2 separate regions of the Homo sapiens genome follow, and region 2 is linked to region 1. Evidence: promoter capture Hi-C in human tissues and cell types (Jung and others, 2019). All regions are on one chromosome and are shown on one strand. Each heading gives the region's core, a stretch centred on a gene start or on the middle of the fragment in contact. The rest is flanking DNA. Distances are from core to core; before and after follow the strand shown.

Region 1 (5,310 bases), core at 1,927-4,426:
GAGGAGAGCAAAGGTTTTGGAGACGGAAAGTGCAGACAGGCAACAATGCACAGAAGTTAACAAGAGAACGCGGGGGTCGGGGGCGATGTAAGGAAGTCGTCATCGACGCCGCGCCGCTTCCCCCACCTCGCACCAGACCTCTGAAATTGCCCTCGGAGACTCGGCCTCTCCTATAAGGACGATCGTCCTCTCAGCTGGAGAACAAGGCCATGCCTCAGCTCCTACGCCAGGCGGAAGCGGGAGAGGAAGGCCGACCCCCAAGAGCGCCCCTTCAGGGGGTCCATCCGGCCTTGATCTCAGATGGGGGGGTGTTTGCGGAGGGCGGGGCATCGCCTCAACAGCTGGGGGCTGCATCATGGCAGGAACGAGTTTCCCTGAGCCACGGAGCTGCAGGTCGCCTCCTCTACTACCCTGCTACCCGGTTACCTCTTCGCCTCTTGGTCGTCGAGCAGCTCCGGCTCGGTCGCCGCCATTACCACATCGCACTCCGCGGCAGCCGCCATCTTACCGCCGGGACCAGAGAGCTGGGTGGGAGGCCGGCGGTGAAGAGCACTTCCGGTTGGAGCATAGAGCAGCTCCGCGGCGCCGCGCCCAGAAGGGCTCCCTCGGGCTCGTCTACCAGAGAGAGGCTCCGCTTGGGGCCAGAGCGGCCTCCCGCCCCCGGATGTCCACGGTGGTCTCCGCGCCGGGGCGGGAGCCCAGGGGCTGTGCCGGTGCGTAGGCGGCGCCACTTTACCCGTGGGTGGGAAGGCGGGGTGTACCGGTGGTAGCCTCTCTAGGGCTTGGCTGCTTTCAGTATTCCAAGAGCCTCATTGCCATAGCAACTTCCAATCCTAGAGAGTCTTCCTGAAAGGCTCCGTGGAGTCTGGGTTGCGTGGGGACCAGGTGACCCAAGACTCTGTAGGGAAGGAGTCCCCACTGCTACCTTTCCGACCTTGGAGTGTGTCCACAGCTTCTTCCCGGGAAAGTCAAGAGACACTTTGAGCTCAGTTCCCCCAGCTTTCATCGTTCTCTGGAAGCCCTGCCCAGTCAAGCCAGGGGAACGCAGGGCGTCTTCACCCTGCGCCTTTCATCCACTCCGGATCTCCAAACACCAACTGGTTCATCACCCTAATGACGCTGACCCTTTTACAAGGCTCCTTTCATGTCAGCCGCCTGGGAGTGCCATCTCAGCATTAAGCCTAGGAAAGCTGACACATGGCGCCCCAGACCCTGCCCTGGAGTTTATAAGGAAGCTCGCGGGGTGAGGTCCTTGCTCTTGTGTCCCCAGTACTCCCACCTCTTATATAAACTCTCTACTCATCACGCTTGCCTTGCCGAATGCGGTCTGGATTGAGAATTCATAGGGGACAAGGGCACAGTTTAACTGTCTTTGTTGTTATTCCCTCACCCAAACGACTATTTGTGGAGCTGAATTAAATTGGAGCTTTCTGGGGTTAAATTGGAGGAGTATGAGGAGTAGCTTTACAATGTAAAGCTAAGAGTAAAATAAGAAGAGGGCAAAGGAATTTTAAAAGGATTTACCTGTTTGTTCCAGGAAAACAGCATGTGCCAATGCTCATACTCTGCCTATCCCAGTGTGGAGGGAGCTGAAACCACAGCGACCACTGAGTAGGGAGGGATAGGACAAGCTCACTAGGTTGGAAAGGAGGGGTCATTCGTTGAGCCAATCACTCAGCCCTTTCCAAAACGCCTACTCTGTGCTAGGTTGTGAGGGCACAAGACTTACAGACCACCTGCCCTGCCTGCCAGTGGCTCATAGTCCAGTCTAATGCTAGCCAACCTGTCTCACCATCTTCCCACTTTATGTTCTATCTAAGGCAACTCATTTATTCCCACAGCTTTACTTCCATCTGTTGATGACTCTCAACTTTTCATATCTCCAACCTAGACCTTTCTTCAGCTTCCACAGCTGTATATCCAACTATCTACTGGATATCTCTTGTATGTTTCACAAATCCCCAAGGCTTACCATATTTAAATTTAACTTTTTCATTGTCTACCCACACCTCAACAACAGAAAAAACAAATGTTGGATGTAATTATTATCTTTCCTAAATTCCGTATCTTGTTAAATGGATTAAACCATTCTCACTCTTGGCTTCCAATTTGTTGCCAAGTTTTGTTGATTCTCCTACCAAATATTTCCCAAATCTATCTCCACCTTTCCATCCCGATTCAGGCGCTCATCATTTTTTAAAATCTTGGAATAGGCTGGGTGTGGTGGCATGCATCTGTAGTCCCAGCTATTTGGGAGGCTGAGGCAGGAGGATCACTTGAGCCCAGGAGTTAGAGGCTGCAGTGAGCTATGATCACACCAATGTACTCCAGCATGGAGAAAAGAGCAAGACCCTGTCTCAAAAACGGCAACAACAACAACAACAAAACAACAGAAAAAAAAACTTGGAATACATCAATAGTCTCCTAATCGGTCTCTAATTTCATCTCTGTTCAGTCTTCCCTCTTCTGCCAGAGTGACCTTCCTCAGGGACTGATCATGTCTCTTCATTGGCAATGGCTTTCCATTGCCGTCAATTTGATCTCTTTGGCCTACCACACAAAGCCTTTGATTATCTGTTTCTTTTTTTAAATAATTTAATTTGAGTACCAATATTTAGGTCCTTTCTACCACCAATATTGAACCCAAGTTCTCATAGTTTCAGAAAATGCCATGACTTGTAGCCGTTTCCTCCACCCTAGAACACCCTTTCCCCCAGGCCCTTCAGTGTCTGCTGACTCAACGTTAAATGCCCTTTTGCTGTGCTCCACAGCACCTCAGTAGTTGTTAGACATCTAGCTTCTCTAGACCGTGAGTTCTGATGGGCAGCCACCATGTCTAACTCGTCCACTTTCTCTCAGTATATGGCCCTGCACCAGGCACAGACAGATGATGCTCAGAAAACATTTGACGAATAAATGATTGAGTAAACGAAGAGTTACTGTACTCTGATCGCCTTTACAGAGAGAACATCTGGGCCTCAGAGACACCAGAACACCCAGCGGCCCGCGTCCAGGGAGTCTAGAACCTTGGGCTCCCGCGCACACCCAGGCCAGGTCCTGGCCGTCATTCTCCCGCCGGCCTCTGGGGGAGCTGCGCGGTCCGCGCTCTCTCTCCGCTGCCGGAATTCGTCTTGCCTGACGGAAGCTGGGGAGCGGGCAGGCGGCGGGGGCGGGGCCTGGAGGAGCCTACACCGACTCTGGAGGAAGACTGGAGCCTTTGCGGCGGCGCTGCCCCTCCCCTGGTCCCCGCGAGCTCGGAGGGCCCGGCTGGTGCTGCGGGGGCCCCGGGAGGTACGGACCTGGGAGGCGAGGCTCGTCCGGCGCTAGGATCGGCCTCCGCCTCCGGGCCGCTTTAGGTGGCTGGTCTCTGCCTCTCATTCCCTCTGGGGGCTCCCCCGTGAGAAAATCTGTGGCGGAGGCACCTCTGGCCCACTCTTATGGTGTCCTTTATTGTGGGGCTCGCTATATGGAGAGGGGGTCTGTGTCAGGAGCTTCCCCTGGAGAGGTTTCTGTTAGGGACCGTCTTTGGGAGTGATCTATCTCTGCTCTCTGGGGGGGATCTTTGTCTGGAGCTTTTGGGGGGCTTGTGTTTGGAAGTTTGCCTTCGGGGAGATATCTGTCTGGGACCTCTTAGGGTTTCTGTATCTGAGCTTTCTCTTTTGTGTCTGTCAGTCCAAGGGCAGCAAAAAGTATGTCCTTTCTGAAGCCTTTTTTTCCGTAGGTTTCTTCATTCTTTTCTCTCTTGTCTTATGTTCATTTTAGCCATAGACTTGACTGGAGTTTAGAGGGAATTGATTGTTGTCCAGATGAGTCGTACAGGAAAGCAGATTGTCTTTTTTTGAGACGGAGTCTTGCTCTGCCGCCCAGGCTGGAGTGCAGTGGCATATTCTTGGCTCACTGCAATCTCCGCCTCCTGGATTCAAGCGATTCTCCTGCCTCAGCCTCTCAAGTAGCTGGGATTACAGGCACCCGCCACCACGCCTGACTAATTTTTTGTATGTTTAGTAGAGATGAGGTTTCACTATGTTGGCCAGTCTGGTCTCGAACTCCTGACTTTGTGATCTGCCCACCTCGGCCTCCCGAAGTGCTGAGATTACAGGCGTGAGCCACCGTGCCCTGCCCCAGATTATCCTTTTTATTTGCTCAGTCCCCCCAGGGAGCAGATGGCTTCAGACAGCCACACAAAACACTGTTCCTGCTTAATTCTCCATGGGGTCATGGTTAAAGAGAGGAAGCTGGGCTGAGCTCCCTTTACTAATTGGTCCTCTACATCTTGCGCACAGAAGGGAACCTGGCCCAGTGGCCAGTGACTCTCCTCTCCCTTTATGGCAGCATTTCCAAGCACCTGCCCTGTGACAGATACTGGCTAGGTACTGGGGATAACAAAGACGAATAAAATAACAGCTTACCATCCAGTAGTAGACATGGAGACATCCGTTTCCTCTGACTAGCATTGGGATGGTGCTGAAACCCTGGAACTATACATTCAGTTTAGAACTATACATTCAGTTTAGAACTCTCAGTTATGGACGTTCTGCCTTCTGTTTTTTTGGTTTTTGTTTTTGTCCACCAGAAAACATCTGCTAGTAACTGCCTTCTGTGTTGATGCTTTCTTTCCTCACCTTACCCAGCGTGCTTCTGTTCTTCAAGGTTGAAAACTAAGCATGGGGAAGAGCTGCAAGGTGGTCGTGTGTGGCCAGGCGTCTGTGGGCAAAACTTCAATCCTGGAGCAGCTTCTGTATGGGAACCATGTAGTGGGTGAGTGTTGTTGGAGGGGGAGGAACAGTGGAAGAAGTTGAAAAATAAGGAATAGGACTTGATCACAACACACACAGGCTAAAAGCTGCTCCTGGTGGTTTTCCCCCCTGGAAGAATAAAACTTACATTGTAACAGATCAACTCTACAACACTGAACAAATACGGAGGGAGAAAGCCCTATGTCCAAGATAGGAAAGAGAAGCTGTCATGTCACACTTGTGCTTAGCATGGAATTAGCATAAAATTAATGTCCATTGGCCGGGTGCGGTGGATCACGCCTGTAATCCGAGCACTTTGGGAGGCTGAGGCGGGTGGATCACCTCAGGTCGGGAGTTCGAGACCAGCCTAACGAACTTGGAGAAACCCTGTCTCTACTAAAAATACAAAATTAGCCGGGTGTGGTGGCACATGCCTGTAATCCCAGCTATTCGGGAGGCCGAGGCAGGAGAATCGCTTGAACTCGGGAGGTGGAGGTTGCGGTGAGCCGAGATTGCGCCATTGCACTCCAGCCTGGGCAACGAGAGCAAAACTCCGTCTCAAAAAAAGAAAGAA
Region 2 (5,310 bases), core at 1,738-4,237, 1.1 Mb after region 1:
ATATATATAACATATTTATATGTATACACACACATATATCTTTATGACTGGTTCTTTCCTGACTATCACAATCCTGACTATCACAAGCTTGAAACCAAGCTTCTCACTCTTCTCCAGTTGCCAACTCTAATCCTCTCAATCTCAACAGCTGTTTTTTGTTGTTTTTTTTTTTTGAGACAGTTTTCACTCTTGTCGCCCAGGCTGGAGTGCAATGGCGCAATCTCGGCTCACTGCAACCTCCGCCTCCCAGGTTCAAGTGATTCTCCTGCCTCAGCCTCCCAAGTAACTGGGATTACAGGCATGCGCCTCCACGCCCGTCTAATTTTGTATTTTTAGTAGAGATGGGGTTTCTCTATGTTGGTCAGGCTGGTCTTGAGCTCCTGACCTCAGGTGATCCACCTGCCTTGGGCTCCAAAAGTGCTAGGATTAGAGGCGTGAGCCACCGTGCCCGGCCTCAACAGCTGTCTTTACCTCCAACTTCACTGGGCTCAAAGCACCTCAGCATCTTCCTGTAGAATTACTCTCCTTTTCCTTCATTACTGTTTATGAGTAATAATCAACTCTTTCTTACATCCTTTTTCTATTTCCAATCCCTTCTGCCTCCTCTTGGACCTTCTCTTTCTTGCAAATGGCTTCCCATCTTTGAGGGCTTCTTCCTTTTCTAACACAACTCCTATACACATATGCAAAGTTAGCTTATTTTTCCTGGATGTATTTTCTTTTCTTTTCTTTTTTTTCAGACAGAGTCTCACTCTGTTGTCAGGCTGGAGTGCATTGGCATGATCTCGGCTCAGGGCAACCTCTGCCTCCCAGGTTCAAGTGATACCCCTGCCGCAGCCTACCAAGTAGCTGGGACTACAGGTACGTGCCACCATGCCAGGCTAGTTTTTTGTGTGTTTTAGTAGAGACAGTGTTTCGCCATTTTGGCCAGGATGGTCTTAATTTCCTGACCTCGTGATCCGCCCACCTCGACCTCCCAAAGTGCTGGTATTATAGGCGTGAGCCACCGCGCCCGTCCTCTATTTTCTTTTATTTGTACATTTGCTCGTATTATTATCTCTGCCTATAAGCCTATAATTTCCTTCTTCCACAAGTTCTCAAAGCAACTATATTCATAACTTAATCTCTCTTTTTTTGTTAAGAGACAGGGTCAGCCAGGCGCGGTGGCTTACACCTGTAATCCCAACACTTTTTAAGGCCAAGGTAGCTGAAGTCAGGAGTTTGAGAGCAGCCTGGCCAACATGGTGAAAACCCTGTCTCGACTAAAAATACAAAAATTAGCTGGGTGTGGTGGCAGATGCCTGTAATCCCAGCTACTCAAGAGGCTGAGGCAGGAGAATCGCTTGAACCCAGGAGGTGGAGGTTGCAGTGAGCCGAGATCACACCACTGCACTCCAGCCTGGGCAATAGAGTGAAACACCATCTCAAAAAAAAAAAAAGACAGGGTCTCACTCTGTCATCTAGGCTGGAGTGCAGTGGTGTGATCATAGCTCACTACAGCTTCGAACTCCTGGCCTTAAGTGATCTTCCTGCCTTGGCCTCCCAAAGTGCTGGGGTTATGGGCAGGAGCTACCACACTGGGCCCTTGAGTCCCTGTAATAATAGTATAGTATGTTCAGCATTTGTTACTCAAGCTGACAAGAAAACATACAGTTCATTCCAGAAAGATTCTCATCCAGATAAATTGAAAGCCCCAGGGCTTTAAAGGTTAATCTTTAGCTCTCTGTAGTAAATACTGGGACTTTTTTTTTTTTTTTTGAGTCTCCCTCTTGTCGCCCAGGCTGGAATGCAGTGGCATGATCTTAGCTCACTCAGATGAAAATTATGGACTATCTTCCCAGAAAAATGTACATGGCCATAGTTTTGAATACAATTTAAATATAATTCTAGGAAATTCATAAAGACTATTCATAAACCCCAAGTTAAGAACTCTGGAATTTAAAAATTCCTCAAAGGATACATAAGAAATTGATCATTGTGGTTGTCTGGGGAGGGAACAGGGAGGCAGGGGTTGTAGGGTAAGAGGGAAGTATACTTTGCATCATATACCTTTTTGTGCTAATAAACTTTTTACCAAGTACATAGTTTGTACCTGGTACCAGGTTATGTACCAGGTACATAAATACTTAAAAACAAATTAGTTGACATTTAAGGTAAGATGTGAGCCATAGCTTAACATAAAGAAAAGGAGAAAGCCCACTTGTTCTACTAAATTACCTACTCTACTTTTTCTGAAATTCTTTTATTAAGAAACAAACATTTTCATTTCAAAAGACAAGATCATCAAATACGTAAATATAACTTGAATCACTGCTATAAATGAATTTTGGCCTAAATAGAAACTGGTATCAGGTCCTTTCCTGTCTTCACAATGATTACAAAGCGGGCAAACACTGACCCTTAGAAGGGGGAATGCATAAGGATATGCAGAAATGAACAGAAAGGAGAAACTGGGAAGGCTCAAACACAATGTGCTTATTTCAAAACTGCTTGCAGTTTGCTTTCACTGATGGACACAAAAAATACAAAACACTGTTCAAAATGATGTTACATCCTAATAGATAATATATGTCAGTCGGGTGTGGTGGCTCACGCCTGTAATCCCAGAACTTTGGGAGGCCGAGGCAGGTGGATCACAAGGTCAGGAGTTCGAGACCAGCCTGGCCAATATGGTGAAACCTTATCTCTACTAAAAGTACAAAAATTAGCCAAGCATGGTGGCGGGTGCCTGTAGTCCCAGCTACCTGGGAGGCTGAGGTAGAAGAATCGCTTGAACTCGGGGGGCGGAGGTTGCAGTGAGCCAAGATCATGCCACTGCACTCCAGCCTGGGCGACAGAGCGAGACTTTGTCTCAAAAAAAAAAAAAAAGATAATATATGTCAAAACTTTACCAGGAACTATGATTACAACCAACTTTTGATAACTATATACTCTCTGAGAAAGAATGAAATGGAGTTGGATTTTTCGTTCTCACTTAATTGAAGAAAGTAAAGCTTCTATAAAGTTAGGTGTTTCCTGGGTTATGAAGGACAAAAACAAAAGCTAATAATGGAGCCACATAACACATTCAAACTTACTTGCAAAATATGTGGTCACACTTTGTGGAGACAGGTTCCTTGATCAACTCCAGACTAGCAGGGTAGGGGGGGAGAAAAAGAAAATAAATGAGGCTCAATAATTTATTTAAAAATAAAGCTATTCTTAGTGAATAAGTTCAACTTTGAGCTGTTATGACTGAGTCAACATAAGGCCTCAAGTTCGTTCAATATTTATTAAATGTCTGCTGTGTCAGGAACTGAGAATACAGCAGAGAATACGATCCTTACCTTCAGTGAGCTTTCAGATATCAAAACAGAATTATATTGATCCCTTCAATACTCTATACTATCATCAGCATTTAAAAGATTAGTTGATAATAGTTCGTACGAATTCATTTCCAGTGATATATTTTTCTGCACTATCACTGTGGGTGCACATCTCATCTTTAAGCTCCATAAAGACAAAATTTTCTGCTTATATTTCTTTTGAATTCCTTCCTAGAACTTTTTTTTGTTTACTGTAAATGCCTTTTTAACTTAATATGGAAAATTTCAAGTATTTCAAAATTTCAAGTAAATAAAATAATAAAATGAACTATATGGACCATCACCCTGGTCCAACAACCATCAACTCATGGCCAAGCTGTTTCACCCATATCCACCCCTACCCCAGATTATTTTAATTATTATTACTTTTAAGATAAGGTCACACTCTGTCACCTAGGCTGGAGTGCAGTGGTGCAAACATACCTCACTGCAGCCTTGAACTCCTGGGCTCAAGCAATCCTCCCAGCACGGGGTTTACAGGCATGAGCCAACACACCCAAACCCAAGTGTCTTCTTTTTTTTGAGATGGGGTTTTGCTTTTGTAGCCCAGACTGGCATGCAATGGTGCGATCTCGGCTCACTGCAACCTCTGCCTCCCAAGTTCAAGTGATTCTCCTGCCTCAGCCTCCCAGGTAGTTGGAACTACAGGCGTGCGCCACCACGCCCGGCTGATTTTTCGTATTTTTAGTAGAGTTGGGGTTTCACCATGTTGGCCGGCTGGTCTTGAACTCCTGACCTCAGGTGATCCGCCTGCCTTGGCCTCCCAAAGTGCTGGGATTACAGGTGTGAGCCACCATGCCCAGCCCCAAGTGTCTTCTGATCTATAGGTGTCTCTTACTTTTTCTCCCTTGTCATTTATTTTTAAAATTAGGTCATTTGACCTGTGGAGTTTCCCCCATTCTGGATTTTGCTGATTGTATAACCCTATGGTGAGGTTTAACTTGTTCCTCTAGCCTTATTTCCTATAAACTAGACTTACAGGCTTAATCATTCAGGTTCAACTTTCTGGCAAGAACACTTTACAGATGGTACTGTGTACTCTTATTAGATCACTTCAGAAGAGGCATGATGTTTGGTTTGTGATTACTTTGTAAAAACAGTGTAATAAGTACTCACTAAAGGAAATTTAGAAAATGATAAGCTTAAGGCCGGGCATGGTGCCTCATGCCTGTAATCCTAGCACTTTGGGAGGCTGAGGTGGGTGGATCACCTGAGCTCAGGAGTTCCAGATCATCCTGGACAATATGGTGAAACCCTGTCTACGCTAAAAATACAAAAATTAGCCGGGCGTGGTGGCGCATGCCTGTGGTCTCAGCTACTTTGGAGACTAAGGTAGAAGGATCACTTGAATCCTGGAGGTGGAGGTTGCAGAGTGAGCCAATATCGTGCCACTGCACTCCAGCCTAGGTGACAGAGGAAGACTCTGTCTCAAAAAAAAGAAAATAAGGCCAGACACGGGGGCTCATGCTTGTAATCCCAGCACTTGGGAGGCCGAGGCGGGCGGATCATGAGGTCAGGATTTCGAGACCAGCCTGGCCAACACAGTGAAACGCTGTCTCTACTAAAAATACCAAAACTAACTGGGCATGGTGGCATGCGCCTGTAATCCCAGCTACTTGGGAGGCTAAGGCAGGAGAATCGCTTGAACCGGGGAAGTGCACGTTGCAGTGAGCCAAGATCGCGCCACTGTACTCCAACCTGGGCGACAGAGCTGGACTCCATCTCAAAATAATAATAAGCTTAAAAATAAAAACTTCAGAAAATACATCACCCAAGTTCCCATCCCTACCTGTCTATCCACAAAACCAAGGCATTCCTGAGATTAGTTCATTTATTATACTAATATAACAAGTGTTTATTAAGTATCTACTACTATATTCAAGTACTATTCTAGGAGATAGAAATGTAGCAGTTTACAAAATAAAGCCTGCTCTCATAGAGCTCA

The links. The method cuts DNA at HindIII sites, captures the fragments that hold promoters and counts their contacts. A contact is called where the count stands out against the background at its distance.
Region 2: a fragment that was not itself captured here is called in contact with the fragment with the promoter of NKIRAS2 in region 1 in 1 of the 25 tissues and cell types used here (dorsolateral prefrontal cortex).

Annotation. Positions count from the first base shown.
Region 1 is chr17:42,016,914-42,022,223 of GRCh38, forward strand. It overlaps NKIRAS2 (NFKB inhibitor interacting Ras like 2), which reads left to right and starts at 3,177. Exons shown (of 4, transcript NM_017595.6): 1 at 3,177-3,291; 2 at 4,651-4,758. The coding sequence starts at 4,665. DNAJC7 (DnaJ heat shock protein family (Hsp40) member C7) reads right to left here and starts at 526. Exons shown (of 14, transcript NM_003315.4): 1 at 427-526. The coding sequence starts at 503. RefSeq lists enhancers at 1-934, 45-94, 165-574 and silencers at 685-834, 3,061-3,470. The HindIII fragment of the contact is 10,906 bases long and covers 1-5,310 here.
Region 2 is chr17:43,112,649-43,117,958 of GRCh38, forward strand. It overlaps BRCA1 (BRCA1 DNA repair associated), which reads right to left. Exons shown (of 23, transcript NM_007294.4): 3 at 3,078-3,131. Among named protein-coding and RNA genes, the nearest start is that of BRCA1, 10 kb to the right of the region's middle. The HindIII fragment of the contact is 5,789 bases long and covers 94-5,310 here.